Regions from separate parts of the Homo sapiens genome. Here all the other regions are linked to region 1. Evidence: promoter capture Hi-C in 16 types of primary human blood cells and fetal thymus (Javierre and others, 2016). All regions are on one chromosome and are shown on one strand. Each heading gives the region's core, a stretch centred on a gene start or on the middle of the fragment in contact. The rest is flanking DNA. Distances are from core to core; before and after follow the strand shown.

Region 1 (2,704 bases), core at 107-2,606:
TAGAAGATTATAAAATATACTTTATTGTAAATACATGCCCCCCAATAAAAACACACAAGGAATAAATGCCAAAAATCCTAGTGACAAAACGAAGTATCACATAGGTGCAGTAGTAATTCCCCTCAAAGAAACCCAGAGTAATCATTACACTTAAGTATTCTTGCTGTCAACATGTTAATTGTTTAAATTATGTGTTAGTTTTAAAGATCACATCCTATAAACTGAAGATTTCTCATGACACAGTAGTGATAAAATGCTACCTTACAGTTCAGATGGTGGTAGAATCATCCAAAAAAAAAGAAGAAGAAAGAAGAAAGAAGAAAAGAAGAAGAAGAAGAGGAAGAAGAAGAAGAAAGAAGAAGAAGAAGAAGAAGAAGAAGAAGAAGAAGAAGAAGAAGAAGAAGAAGAAGAAGAAGAAGAACCATTTTCTCTTATCAGTTTATGTTATGAGATAAGAAGATCTCTCTCCCTCCCTCTCCCCCTCTCTCCCCCTCTCACATCTGCAAGAGTCCGGACTGAGGAGTAGAAGGAACGCGCCATAAGGATTTCGCAAAGTCTGGTCTCTACCTACTTGGAATTTCTTGGAAAAGATTCAAGCATATCATTCCCCTTTCACTAAAGCAAGACGAGAAATCACGTCTAAACCACTGGAATTGCTTTGCTGTGAGGAAGTCGAAGGTGATCAAAGGCAGGGTGGCATGCAAAATGGCACTTGGATAAAATGGGTCTCATTAGGGTAGAGTCCCATTCACGTAAAATGACTCCAGGCAATTCCTAGGGCCTCGACTTTCAACCTGACACTTGCCTGTGTGCAATGAAGATGGAAACAGGGACAACGCGCACCTCCCACAACCATCTGGAAGCTTCACCCTCTCGGCCTGACCCCCAAAGACCCGCTGAAAAGAATGGATGCTTTTGCGAACTCCGGTCCCCACACTGCGGCTCCCCAAGAGCTCCACGGGCAGGGCAGCGGGGCGGAGGCGTCGGGGACTCAGTGCGCGGGGGGCGACGGGGGTTCGGGCTCCGGGCTCACCCGCGTTCTGCAGCGTCTCGATGTTTTGGGGTCTAGTCGCCAGCTCCGCCACCATCTGCACGAACTGGGTCCTGGCCTTCTGGTATTGCTCGAACACTGCGGGAGAGAGAGTCGGTGGAGCCCACCGCACCCGGGTCTCCTCGGCGCCAGCTAGTTAGGGCACCTGCCCGCCTCGGCCCTACCTTGCAGCACCTGCCTCTGACTCATGGCGCCCCCGCCGCCGTCTGCCCTCCTCGAGCTCTGCGGGGAAGCCGCTCGGCCTGCGAGTCCACCAAGGGGGCGATCGTGGCGACGACTCGGCCTCCGACGGGAGCCGCTTCTCTGTGTACCCGCGTCTCCCGGGCAACCTACCGGAACCGGAACGCGGCCGTCTTGCTGCAACGGCCAGTCCCGGGCGTGACGTCACGGCCGCGGTGCCTGGGCGCACTGAGCGGGGCGGCGGCGCGAAGACGCCCGAGCTCGAGGACTCGGACTGCTGGGGCTCTCAGCGCGCCAGGCTCGCGGAGCCGCCGGGACATCGCGCGCCGTCGAGTATCCCTGCACTGCCCGGAGGTCGGAGCTCCTTACAAAGCGACCCCAGATTGCCGTGGTATCCTGACTGCGGCGCGGGTCGGGACCAAGCGCCGGGAGAGCCCCACGCGCCAAGGGAGCCTGGTTCGAGGGCAGCCAGACGAGTAAATTGCAGCCCTGGAGTTGTCTGAGCTTCGACGGTCCCGAGAAATCTCACACGTCACATTGTACAATCCGATCAACACATGAATGTCAATGCAACTTAAGTGTTGCATTGACATTTAACACTGCACTGACAGTAAAACACTGATTTAGGAATCCGTGTTTTCTTTTGTAACCCGCTGTTATATACCTGGCATTCCTGGTTTCAAGATTCCTGGAGGAGCATGACAACCATGTTCACACACTTAATTACACTGTATTGAAAGCATTTAATGAGCACTCAGAGACTCAGTGAGGAAAGCAGATGAGGAAAGGATGTGATGAATGTCCTGTCTTCCCTGGCTTTCTCCTAATGACTACTAATTTTGCTGTTTCCTCACTTTTATGTGATTTGTAAATATTTTGTCTTAGTCTTTTAAATTTAGGCTTCGTTATGTTGATGAATGACATCTCCAACAGAAAAAGAGAGAGAACCTTTACCTGGAAAACCAGACTTCCCTATCTTATATAACTTGAACCCTTTACCCAGTTTCTTTTAACAAAATTGAAGTACTTAGTCTATTACTGGTTTCTAGCTTGTCTTTGAAAACTATATACCAGTTGTTTCAATGACAGTTGTCAACTTTAAATGTTCCTCCATCAAAAACTACAATTTCACCAGATGTCAAGTGGATACATAGCCGCAGCTGCTGCTAAGTAGTGCCAAGACAGGAAACCCCTTGATATTTCTTCAACAGAAGGGAGCATGCAAACTTAACTGGTTCTATATTTGGAATGAGTCCTCTATATTTATCTTTGAGATCTCACCCTTCACTGAGCTCTTGATGAAGTCCTGATACTTTGTGGAGCTCCAAATAGTTGGGGAATGGTCCAGCAATCAGAGAGAAGAATAAGTGTGTTTAGTCGGGTCCCTAATACCCCCGAAGGGCAGGTACATGTCTTCTGCTTCTGCAGCTCAAAAGCCAGTGATGGCCACAATCTTTTTACTTAATTCAAAGT
Region 2 (2,704 bases), core at 56-2,555, 810 kb after region 1:
CAGGACTTCAAGGCTGCAGTGAGCAATGATTGCGCCACTCCACTCCAGCCTGGGGAACAGAGCAAGACTGTCTCAAAATAATAAAATACAAATAGTTCTGAGACTCAACACATTTTTATAGGTTACTCAACCATTATTTCTTTCTTTTTTTGTGAGACGAGTCTCGCTCTGTCGCCCAGGCTGGAGTGCAGTGGCGCAACCTCAGCTCACTGGAACCTCTGCCTCCCAGGTCCAAGCGATTCTCCTGCCTCAGTCTCCCAAGTGGCTGGCATTACAGGTGCACACCACCACACCCAGCTAATTTTTGTATTTTTAGTAGAGGTGGGGTTTCGCCATGTTGCTCAGGCTGGTCTCAAACTCCTGACCTCAGGTCATCCACCCACTTTGGCCTCCCACAGTGCAAGGATTACAAGCACGAGCCACAGCACCCAGCCCATTATTTCTACCGCTCAAAAATTGCCCAGGCAAACACAAAAGCTTCTGCTTTTGCTATATGCCTAGGTAAAGAAGCTAAAATGTTTGTTCTCTACCTTCAGTCTAATTCCATAATCAACACCAAGGGAAAGGAATTTGCTATAACAAGATGTCTTGGAATAAATAATAAATCAATAAATATAATAAGATTTTAAAAAGGAACTATCATATTTTAAATGGTAGGTTTGCATAACTAATGAAAATAAAATCTATTTCTGATATTTTCAGAAATCCAAATGGGAAAAATGCTTGTGGATACAAAGGATAAACATACCTCCCTCACTGTGTTTTTTGTGAGACAGTCTCTCACTCTGTCACCCAGGCTGGAGTCATGGTTCACTGCAGCCTCAACCTCCCAGGTTCAAGCAATCCTCCTGTCTCAGCTTCCAGAGTAGCTGGGAGTACAGGTGCAAGCCACCACGCCCAACTAATTTTTTTTTTTTTTTGAAACAGTCTCACTCTGTTTGGAGTGCAGGCTGGAGTGCAGTGGCACAATCTTGGCTCACTGCAACCTCTGGCTCCCTCATTCAAGCGATTCTCCCGTCTTAGCCCCCAGAGTAGCTAGACTATAGGCACGCGCTGCCACATCCAGTTAATTTTTTGTATTTTTAGCAGAGATAGGTTTCACCATGTCGGCCAGGCTGGTCTCAAACTCCTGACCCCAAGTGATCCGCCCACCTCAGCCTACCAAAGTGCTGGAATTATAGGCATGAGCCACTGTGCCCAGCCCCAACTAATTTTTAAAATTTTTCTTTTGTAGAGACTAAGTTGACCAGGCTGGTTTCAAACTCCTGGACTCAAGCAATCCTCCTGCCTCGGCTTCCCAAAGTGGTGGGATTACAGGTGTGAGTCACTGCACCCGGCCTACCTCCTTTTTGTTTTTTTTTTTCCTTTCCTGAGAGTCTTGCTCTGTCACCCAGGTTGGAGTGCAATGGCATGATCTCAGCTCACTGCAACCTCCGCCTCCCAGGTTCACGCCATTCTCCTGCCTCAGCCTCCCAAATAGCTGGGATTATAGGGCGTGCCACCACGCCCAGCTAATGTTTGTAATTTGTTTTTCTTTTTTTTGAGACAGAGTTTCACTCTTATTGCCCAAGCTGGAGTGCAATGGCACCATCTCAGCTCACTGCAACCTCTACCTCCCGGGTTCAAGTAATTCTCCTGCTTCAGCCTCCTAAGTAGCTGGGACTACAGGTGCTTGCCACACCCAGCTAATTTTTGTATTTGTAGTAGAGACGGGGTTTCACCATGTTGGCCAGGGTGGTCTCCATCTTTTGACCTCGAGATACTCCCGCCTCGGCCTCCCAAAGTGCTGGGATTACAGGTGTGAACCACTGCACCCGGCACCTCCTTCATTCTTATAAGAGGTTTAGAAAAGTTCTGAAATAAGGTAACCACCCAAGTTAAAAAAAAAAAAAAAAAAAAGATTTTTATGTTGGTTTGCCAAAGGGACTGAATGCCTGAAATCAGTGAGTGTTCGAAGTTAAACTATACACCCAAAGATGTAGTAAAAGGAATATGATAGTCACTAAAATTATTGGGTTTTTTTCCCATTACACAAAACCTAAGAGAATTATCAATGTAACTTCCTTATGTTTCTATTTCCATTATATTTTAACTATGATTAGCCAGTGTAACCTTCAAACTTCTTCAAGCTTTCTTGATTCTGTAACTAGTTAACAAAGCCCAAATATGACTATGTATTTTTGTTTTCAAAGTATCCAAAATATACTCACTTGATTCCATTTGTTTTTCAGTTTTACAAAATCTGTTTAATACTCCAAGTCAATATTTGGCCTAAATTATCTCTTACATTATGATATTTGAAGAAATGACTGACAACCCCACAAACCACAACAGGAGTGCAGTTCCTAATTTCCTAACCTACTCACTAAAGTTTAATGTTTTTGATAAATAGTCCTTACCACTCTGGCTGCTCTCTCCTGAGATTCACATTTCCTGCAAAACCACGGTCCAGTGGGTACTTGAACAATGCCATAGCAAGCTGTTGAAAAATGAAATGTGTTAAAATGTTAAGATTCGAAGAACTATGGAAAAATCAAATACCCTTTCAAAGCCCTATTAATCCACCTGTCACTATTCAAGTAAACTACCTCTTTACAGAGAAGTAAAACAGTTCACATCCTATTTATCACATATACAGCTTACTTAATTAACAAGTAAAAATTTTAAATGCAACTCTTTTGTGTTACCTCATCTAAATAAATCA
Region 3 (2,704 bases), core at 149-2,648, 750 kb before region 1:
TGTTGCTGGAGAACTTCAGATCCCAGGGCAATTCATTAGGCTGCTTCTGACAGCAGCAATTACAGCCATGAAGTAGTTACCGCTAAAACCACCATCCTTTTTCAAGGGGTTATAGAGAGCTCGTCGGTAACTGTGACCTGTTTCTATCACCTGTGGTTCTCAGCAATACAATGCTTGGCACACAGTAGGCTCACAGCAAATGTCATCAGACTGACTAGAGACACCAGTGATTAGAAAGGCCATAGCTGGAAGTCAAGTTGGATGAGCTAACATTCCACAACGCCAACGCTTTTATTTAGTTACGTATTCTTTCAATATTGCATTTCGAAAACTTCAGGGGCTAAAAAGAGCTCAGAATGAGTTGGTACATTTTCATCAGTTGGGTATCTCTGAATGTCTTCAATGAACACATATAAAATTGGATTCAGAGTGGGTCAGTCTGGCAACCGCCCAGGAAGCCAATCCCCTGGGGCACTAAGTTACCCTGAAATAGAACTGAAATACAGGGGTAGCTGGCACAGGTCTCCCGAGGTGACTCCTTCCTGCTTGGTGAAATGTGCAGGTACCCAGATCCAAGAGAGGATCCAAAAGTATTTAGCAGAAACACACACACACACACACACAGAGAGAGAGAGAGACACACACACACAGGCTCGCCCTGGTCTCTGTCTCAGTCATTAACAATGGCTGTCACCTTAAAGAAGGAACAAATGATCAACCCAGTCTCCCTGGCTCTTAGACACATTTATGGGAAGTCAGCAGGGCAGGAAACACTCACAGGAACCCCAAGTCTGAACTGCCTGCTTCTCAGATGCTGGAAGGAAGCCCGCGGAACTACGAAGAGGGCTGCAATGCAAAATACTAGGGGCCTTCGCAGGGGCGCGCGGGCCGGGCTGCTACAGCCCAGGCCCCGGGCCTTCGCCTGGAGTCCCCGATAGGGGTCAGAGGCCCCCGAGCCCCACTTATGCCCCCACTCCCCGAGCCAAGAAAAAAAAAATTATGCGCACATTTAGGGGGATCATTTGTTCATTTCCTCGGATTCTCACAGGGGTCAGTCCCCACCCTGCCGCCACCAAGTTTACAATCCACTGTCCCAGATCCTCGGGCTGGGGGGGGGGAGGGGCGCGCCGAGGAGGGCTTAGTAGGAGGGCAGCGCCCGGCCTGGACCGGCCCTAGGCTCCCGGGTGCAGCCGGTGAAATGAAGCCGAAAGCCGTAGGCGGCGGCGGGGCCTGCGGGACCCGCGTCCTACCTGCCTCCCCCAGTCCCGGCCCGGTGCCGGGCCCGCCGCCGCCCGCTTGGCCCCGCACCGCCCGCCGAGGCGCAGTTCCGAGGGTCAGGCCCCGGAGCAACCAGAGGAGCCGCGCCATGACGCCCGCTCCGGCGCCGCTCCGCCCTCTGCCCTCTGCCCGTCTCTGCCCCTGCTCCCATCCCACCCCTCCCCCATTCTCTCCCGTCCGCCTGCGCTAGTCGGCCTCCCTCCCCACGCTCCGCCCACACCGCCAGTCCCCTCGTCTCCCTCCCCCTCTTCTCCCTCCCCTGCCCCTCCCTCCTTCCCTCCTTCCCACCTGCTCCTCCCACTATGTGCCCTGGGCCCTCCCAGGTCCCCGCCCCTCTTTCCTCCCACTCTGCCTCTCTCTCCCCCTCCCTCTTCCTCTCCTTTTCCCCTTGCCTTTCCTCCCCCTTCCTCTCCCCCTTCCTCTCTCCCTTCCCTTCCATGAGACCCTCCCCAACCCATCTCTGCATCTCCCAGCTCCTCCCACTCCTGCTCCTCCCTCGCCCTGCCCCCCTCCACCTATCCCAACTCCACTCATCCGCAGCCCAAACACTGATCTGTTTTAGTTTGCATTTTCTAGAGTCGTCCATAAATGGAATCATCCCATATGTACTTGATTTTGTCTGGCTTCTTTCACTCAACATAGTTACTTTGACATGCCTGCGTGTTTTTGCATGGAACAATCATTCATTGCTTCCTGAGCAGTATTCCATTTATGGATATACCACCGTGTGTTTAGTCAGCACTTGATTTAGCCTGCTTTCAATTTTTCCTGATTAGAACTACAGCTGCTAGGAACATCCCTGTGCAAATCTTTGTACAGACATATACGGTTTTTCCTCTCTGGGGTAAATACCTGGAAGTGGAATGCCCAGGTCGTAAGGTAGGTGTAACCATTTAAGAAACTACTATACTGTTTTCCCAAGTGGTTTTTTTCTTTACCTTCCCACTAGCAGTCTATGCGAGTTCCAGTTGTTCTTCATCCTTGCCAACACTTGAAAGTCCAGAGATTTTAACTGTAGATGTTCCGGTTCTGTGTAGTGGTAGCTCATTGTGGCTTTATTATGCATTCTCTAATCGTTAATGATGTTAAGCATCTTTTCATGTGCGTATTTGCAGCGAGTGTATTTTCCTTGGTGAAGTGTCCGTTCAGATCTTTTGCCCATTTAATGTTGAGTTGTTTCATTATTGAGCTTAGAACACTTTATATATTTTGGATGCAAATCTTTTATCAAACATATGCTTTACAAAGATTTTTTTTCCCAGTCTCTTGTTTGTCTTTTCTGTCTCCTAATATTGTCTTGGGAAGAGCAGTTTTTAATTTTGATGAAGCCCAATTTATCAATTTGTTAATGGATTGTTCTTTTTTTGGTATCATATTTAAGAAATCTTTGCCTAATCCAAGATCACAAAGATTCTCTCCTATGTTT
Region 4 (2,704 bases), core at 89-2,588, 650 kb before region 1:
GTACTTCAATGGCATCCAGGATAGAAACAGAAGTATTTTAAGTAAATGCAAACAATAAATTCTCAAATACTTTGTCTTTTGTGTGTACCAGGGAGTTTTTGGAAAACTAAAGGAGTTCGCAGGGTCATACATCATCTTTTTCTTTCATCTTGAAAACTAAGAAACGAAGAAAAATTGGATCATGGAAATACAGGAATTTACATCAGGTATATCCGAACAGTCAGCCTTTCTGCTTTGATTTTGTTTCTTTCTTTCTCCTCTACAAAGGCATATTTTGACTTGGTTCATTTATATCTCTACCTTCTGCTCTTTTCTTTGCTCTTGATGGAGACAGTAAAGGGAAATGCATAAAAAACTAGGTGTTTAAAAAACCAAAGATTCTAGTACACAGTGGAATATAGCTTTTACTAAATTGAACATAAATGCCAGCACAGAAAGATGAGTCGTGCAGGCACAGCTGGCACAACCTGCATTATATGTACATATTTGCCCGTAATTTGCTATATGCAGCACTAAGTCTAAAAAGAATAATTGAGATTAACTTATTATGGTGGTAAATTAAACTATTATTCTTACCTTAAAAAAACTAATTTTATATACAGAAGTAGAGCCCAGAACTTGTACTTTAAAAAACAAAAAAGAATTGAACAAAATTCTTTTTTGAAACAAAATTGTTTGTTTAAAAAACAAAAAAGAATTGAATTAATTCTGTTTATTTCAAACCTCAGACATTCTGTTGTATTTTTCCCTGTACACAAGCTGAAGCCTGTCATATTTTTAAAGCCATTATTTTGGTTTCCCAAATAGTATAGCATTATCCAAATGAATGGGATGGAAGTCAAACTGCTTTGTTTTAAAATCCAGAATTATAGGGCCATATGTCATCACAATAATTTGAAAATATTTTCTGATATTTACTATCATTAGTCTCCATCCAGTTGGAGTTTAATCAAGTAAGAGTTTAAAATGTAAATTGGGAAAAAAACAAACTAAAAAACAAATATGGGAATGTATGAAAACATCTGTTTATATCATTTGATATATGTAAACAGAGGTGAAGCTTGACATGTCATGTGACGTCAATCTATTAGCAAGTCCTGACTATTTTCCTCCTCCATATTTCTCAAATCTCTCCCTTCTCTCCATCCTCCCACAGAATCCAATTCAGCATCCTCTCTTGTGGGTTGATATAAATAATCTCCTAAGAGGTCTCTCCTCACCCCCTCCAGTCCTTCCTCCGTCTTACAGCTAAAGTGATGTTTTAAAATTATAATCATATTGCTCCCCTACTTAAAACTTTCACGGTTTCCCATTGCTTAGGATAAAGTTCCCAATTTTTTCTTTTTCTTTTTTGTTATATTTTTAAATTATTTTTCTAGAGATGGAGTCTTGCTACGTTGCCCAGGCTAGTCCCAAACTTCTGGCCTCAAGCAATCCTGCCACCTCGGCCTCCCAAAGTGCTGGAATTACAGGAGTGAGCCGCCATGCCTGGCCTACCCCCAAATTTCTGACATGGCCTCCAAGGCCTTACACAAGCGGCCCCCACTTCTCACGCCAGCCCCATGCACCCCCAGCCCCTCGCCGCCTCTTCCTGTTGCTCCGTGCTCTAAGCTTCTCTTGCAGCCTTCAATATGCCAGGCTCTTTCCCACATCAGGGCTCCCCTGCGCTCTTCCCATTTCCTGACATCCTCTTCCCCCAGGACAATGCCCAGCCCTCTTTCACAGCTCAGCACAAATGTCTTTTCCTCAAGGAGGCACTTCTGGATCCCCAAAGGAGATTTCTTTTTAACATGAGCTCAGAGCATTTGTGTGCTAAATATACACATTTCTTTTTGTTTAAAAATATGATGTTCTGGCATAAATGTTTACATCAGAAAAAAGTAACAATTTAAAAATGTTATTTTGCAGCACTCATGAATGGAATTCAGCAGATTTTTCATTCAAATGCCCAAGCCCCACAATAAAAGAGCACTTACAGAAAGGATGCTAAGAACATCACTGAGGAAAAATTCAAACACAAATAGCGTCTATGGCTCACTAAAAATATTGTGCGATTTCATGTCTGTGTCTTTGCACTTGTGGTCCCTTTGTCCCAAACACCCTTCCCTATCCCTCTGGCACTTGTGGCTGGAGAACACTAGCTCATTCTTCACTCTCTGCTTACCTGTCCCTTCCTCTGCAAAGTCATCTGTGACCATCACGGCCCTCCTTGTTAATCACTCCCTCTGCTGTGCTATGTCTGTACCTGGTACTTACCTCTTAGAGGTAATATTTGAGTCTTATTTATATTTCCGGTGCTGAGAAGATCAATGTATTTTAATTGACTCGAATCAACTCAAGGTGAGTGAGCAGAAATTCGCTGCAGGTATCAAGAAGAAGGGAGGGGGAAAGTGCTTAGCTCAGCTTTAAGTTTGCAAGAAGGGATAGGATCCAGCAACACTGCGATTTCCAGTTTTATCACTTACAGCTGCTCTTGAAATTGGTTCATTTCCTCCCTGCCCTCATGCTTCTCCAATTATACAGTGAGGTAATTTTTAGATGGTATTCAAGAAATAAAATTTTACACTTTAGACAACTTCTTGGGAATATATTCTTCTCTTTTATCAAGGGATGTCTCTATTTTGTCTTTGCAGACATTGTTGACTCTGTTTATTTTAGTGTGCACCAGTTGACACCATTTGGTACCTTTCAGAGTTGAATCCTT
Region 5 (2,704 bases), core at 109-2,608, 630 kb before region 1:
ATCTTCTAGCACTGGCCTCAAAGATGTTGGTTCTGCCCTAATATTGTGTTCTGGTCAGAAGTGGGCAGTACTGCCCAAAAATGTCATGGCTAAGGCAGATCAGAGTCCTTAGGGGAAATCCTGCTTCTGGAATGGAGAGATTTTCTCAAAGCTCTGCACTTCCAATGAGAAGAGCATTCATTCATAATAATTTATTGGGATATGTGAACAGAGAGAAAGTTTGAATCTTCGTGGAATCATCTATCTTTCTAGAGGTTCCAAGAATCAAGCTTTCAGACCAGATATCTCCTAGGCTATAAGAAAATTAAACCACCTCTGCATTCACTGAATTTGAAGACCTACCTGGCATACTTTTTCAGTTTTTGTAGAGTTGCCAAAGATGAAAACAATTTAAGAAGGAAGGAGGCTATGTCAGAAGGGATGGAGGAAGATTACCAGTTGAATAAGTTGAATTATAAAATGGAAGTTTGCACAGTAATAGAGGAAACCTGCAAGACCATGGTGAAGGAGCCCGACTTTAATACAGATGGGCAGTTGGTTGAATGATGTTAAGGTAGATCTGGGAAATGGAGGTTCTGCTCAGCAATGGAAGTTAACTTTTGTGCTGTGCTTGCTTGGTATTCCAATGAGGGCCGGGTTACTTTAGTTCATGCACAGGTTGTTGCTTTAATCTACCATAGTGGGAACAGGTGAAGGTCTGGTGTGAGAAAACTGGTAGCAGATGTAGAGCAGAGTGGGCTATACTAGGTTACAGCACGAGGAAGCAGGTTTTTTAATTTCTTAAGGACAGAAAGAGAAACCAGTTATTTTATTGACACCTTGAAAATTAACAGAATTAGAAAATTTGAGATTTCCTCTAAATCTAGCCATTTGAAGAACATGGATACCAATAGATCAAAACAGCATTTCCCAAACCAGAATCCAGACAAAAGGCCCAAACCAGAGCAAATGAGTATAAAATTATGGTCGAACAAAGTTATACAATCCAGACCACAAGGGAGAGTTTCTGAGGAAGAACAAATTGATAACCAATGGCCATGTGCTTGTGTAAAATAGAAGAATCTCTGATGCCAAGTGGGGCTATCTGGATTTGATCCTGCTTATTCTAGCTCAAGAGTTATTCAGAAGACAGGTGGGCTTCAGGCAGTCCGTGAACTCCCTGCAATTATATGCAGAATGTAGTGTATTTGTGCATTTTCAGAAGGTTACTCTTTGTTCAGATTGTCAAAGAAACTTAACACTCCCCAAAGTGGAGTGTGGGCAGTATAGTTGGATGTGCTTGGAAGCTGTCAGAAATACAGGCAGGAATTCAGAAGACAGGTCAGAATTAGAAACAGATTTGGGATTCATAAGCAAATAAGGAGGCAGCTGAAACATTAGTCATAAGTAAGAGTGCTCAGGGAGATTTTCAAGAGAACAAGACATAAAACAGAAGGCAAGTTTAGGTTGAAATAAGCTGAGGAAAGTGGTAAAGGTGAAGGCTGGTCTGGTAATTTGAAGAACAATCAGGAGAGAGGGGTGTTTTGAAAACGATGGAATAAAAGAGTTTACAGGAGGAGAGGGCAATCAGCAGTGTGGATTCCCACCCAGAGGTCACGTTAAAAAGGACTGAAAATGCCTCTGCAGGATTTCGGAGTTGAGAGGTCAACGTCAAATTGTACAAGGACTATTTTGGCAGAATGGCAGAAACAGAAGTCAGGTGCAGCAGGTGAAATGATGGAGATGAGCTGAGGAGATGTGGCTATTTAAAATGGACTGATCTGTCAAAGAGGTTGATAAGAAAAGGAGAAAAAGAGGACCCTGGGGCAAGGGGAAGAGAGGAAGAAACAAATTTCCACAAGTCACCCAGGCCACAGACAATGAAGGGCCTCTTAGAAAGCTCTGAACTTATATCACCTTCCTCTTATATAAACCAGTGGGATCAGGAGAATCGAACTCTGGCGTTGCAATACTGCATTATGGGAAAGTCTCCTCCTCATCCACAATTGGGCTAAAGGAGTCCACTGCCCTTTCAATTGATGGGAAAACAGGCAAAGGGCACCCTGTAGGCTTCATCTATTCATTAAAACTAGGCCCAGGTAGAGTCCTCTGCATTCCATGATGAGCATTAAAAACCAAAATTATGAAACACTGCATAGAAAGGAGAACAGAGATGGTCTAAAAATAAGTATTCATGAGGAAAAAAGATTAAGTGAAACAAAAACAAGAATCCAAAGTATAGTGGAAAAAACTAGCTTCCTGAATTAGGGGAAAAAATCATGACTCTGGAGATCAAAAGGCTTGCCTGTGTAGTGGAGACAGTGGAGAGGGGGACTTAGACATATTTCGGCAAAATTTTCAAACTCAGGATAAAAAATTCTACCTTAATACAGCAAAAAAATCATATATGCAAAATAATGCAAATCAGGCTTGAACAATACAAAAGCAATCTTCATAGATAAGCTTTTCATTTTTGTTTTTTTGAGATGGACTTTCTCTGTTGTTGCCCAGGCTGGAGTGCGATGGTGCGATCTTGGCTCACTGCAACCTCCACCTCCTAGGTTCAAGTGATTGTCCTACCTCAGCCTCCCGAGTAGCTGGGATTACAAGCATGTATCACTACACCTGGCTAATTTTTTTGTATTTTTAGTAGAGATGGGGTTTCACGGTTTCACCATGTTGGCCAGGCTGGCCTTGAACTCCTGACCTCAGGTGATCCACCCGC

What was found. Contacts are between HindIII fragments. The CHiCAGO score rates a contact against its expected background, and 5 or more counts as called.
Region 2: a fragment that was not itself captured here is called in contact with the fragment with the promoter of SPAG6 in region 1 in 4 of 17 cell types (total B cells, naive B cells, total CD4 T cells and 1 more); the score reaches 17.4 in total B cells.
Region 3: the fragment with the promoter of MSRB2 here is called in contact with the fragment with the promoter of SPAG6 in region 1 in 1 of 17 cell types (neutrophils); the score reaches 5.8 in neutrophils.
Region 4: a contact is called between a fragment that was not itself captured here and the fragment with the promoter of SPAG6 in region 1, in 1 of 17 cell types (fetal thymus). The highest score is 6.9, in fetal thymus.
Region 5: a contact is called between a fragment that was not itself captured here and the fragment with the promoter of SPAG6 in region 1, in 3 of 17 cell types (fetal thymus, erythroblasts and total B cells). The highest score is 8.3, in fetal thymus.

Annotation. Positions count from the first base shown.
Region 1 is chr10:22,344,148-22,346,851 of GRCh38, reverse strand. SPAG6 (sperm associated antigen 6) reads right to left here and starts at 1,356. Exons shown (of 11, transcript NM_012443.4): 1 at 1,216-1,356; 2 at 1,034-1,129. The coding sequence starts at 1,240. RefSeq lists enhancers at 511-1,327, 1,288-1,507. The HindIII fragment of the contact is 2,343 bases long and covers 866-2,704 here.
Region 2 is chr10:21,538,608-21,541,311 of GRCh38, reverse strand. MLLT10 (MLLT10 histone lysine methyltransferase DOT1L cofactor) reads right to left here. Exons shown (of 23, transcript NM_001195626.3): 3 at 2,400-2,479. Among named protein-coding and RNA genes, the nearest start is that of MLLT10, 5.7 kb to the right of the region's middle. The HindIII fragment of the contact is 1,652 bases long and covers 480-2,131 here.
Region 3 is chr10:23,094,273-23,096,976 of GRCh38, reverse strand. It overlaps MSRB2 (methionine sulfoxide reductase B2), which reads right to left and starts at 1,398. Exons shown (of 5, transcript NM_012228.4): 1 at 1,251-1,398. The coding sequence starts at 1,368. It overlaps LOC107984215 (a long non-coding RNA gene), which reads left to right and starts at 1,698. Exons shown (of 3, transcript XR_001747394.2): 1 at 1,698-2,157. RefSeq lists a silencer at 1,121-1,590. The HindIII fragment of the contact is 9,169 bases long and covers 1-2,704 here.
Region 4 is chr10:22,993,206-22,995,909 of GRCh38, reverse strand. The region is part of intron 10 of ARMC3 (armadillo repeat containing 3); the gene reads right to left. LOC107984215 (a long non-coding RNA gene) reads left to right here. Exons shown (of 3, transcript XR_001747394.2): 3 at 92-486. Among named protein-coding and RNA genes, the nearest start is that of ARMC3, 67 kb to the right of the region's middle. The HindIII fragment of the contact is 551 bases long and covers 1,063-1,613 here.
Region 5 is chr10:22,975,324-22,978,027 of GRCh38, reverse strand. The region is part of intron 8 of ARMC3 (armadillo repeat containing 3); the gene reads right to left. Among named protein-coding and RNA genes, the nearest start is that of ARMC3, 49 kb to the right of the region's middle. The HindIII fragment of the contact is 2,173 bases long and covers 272-2,444 here.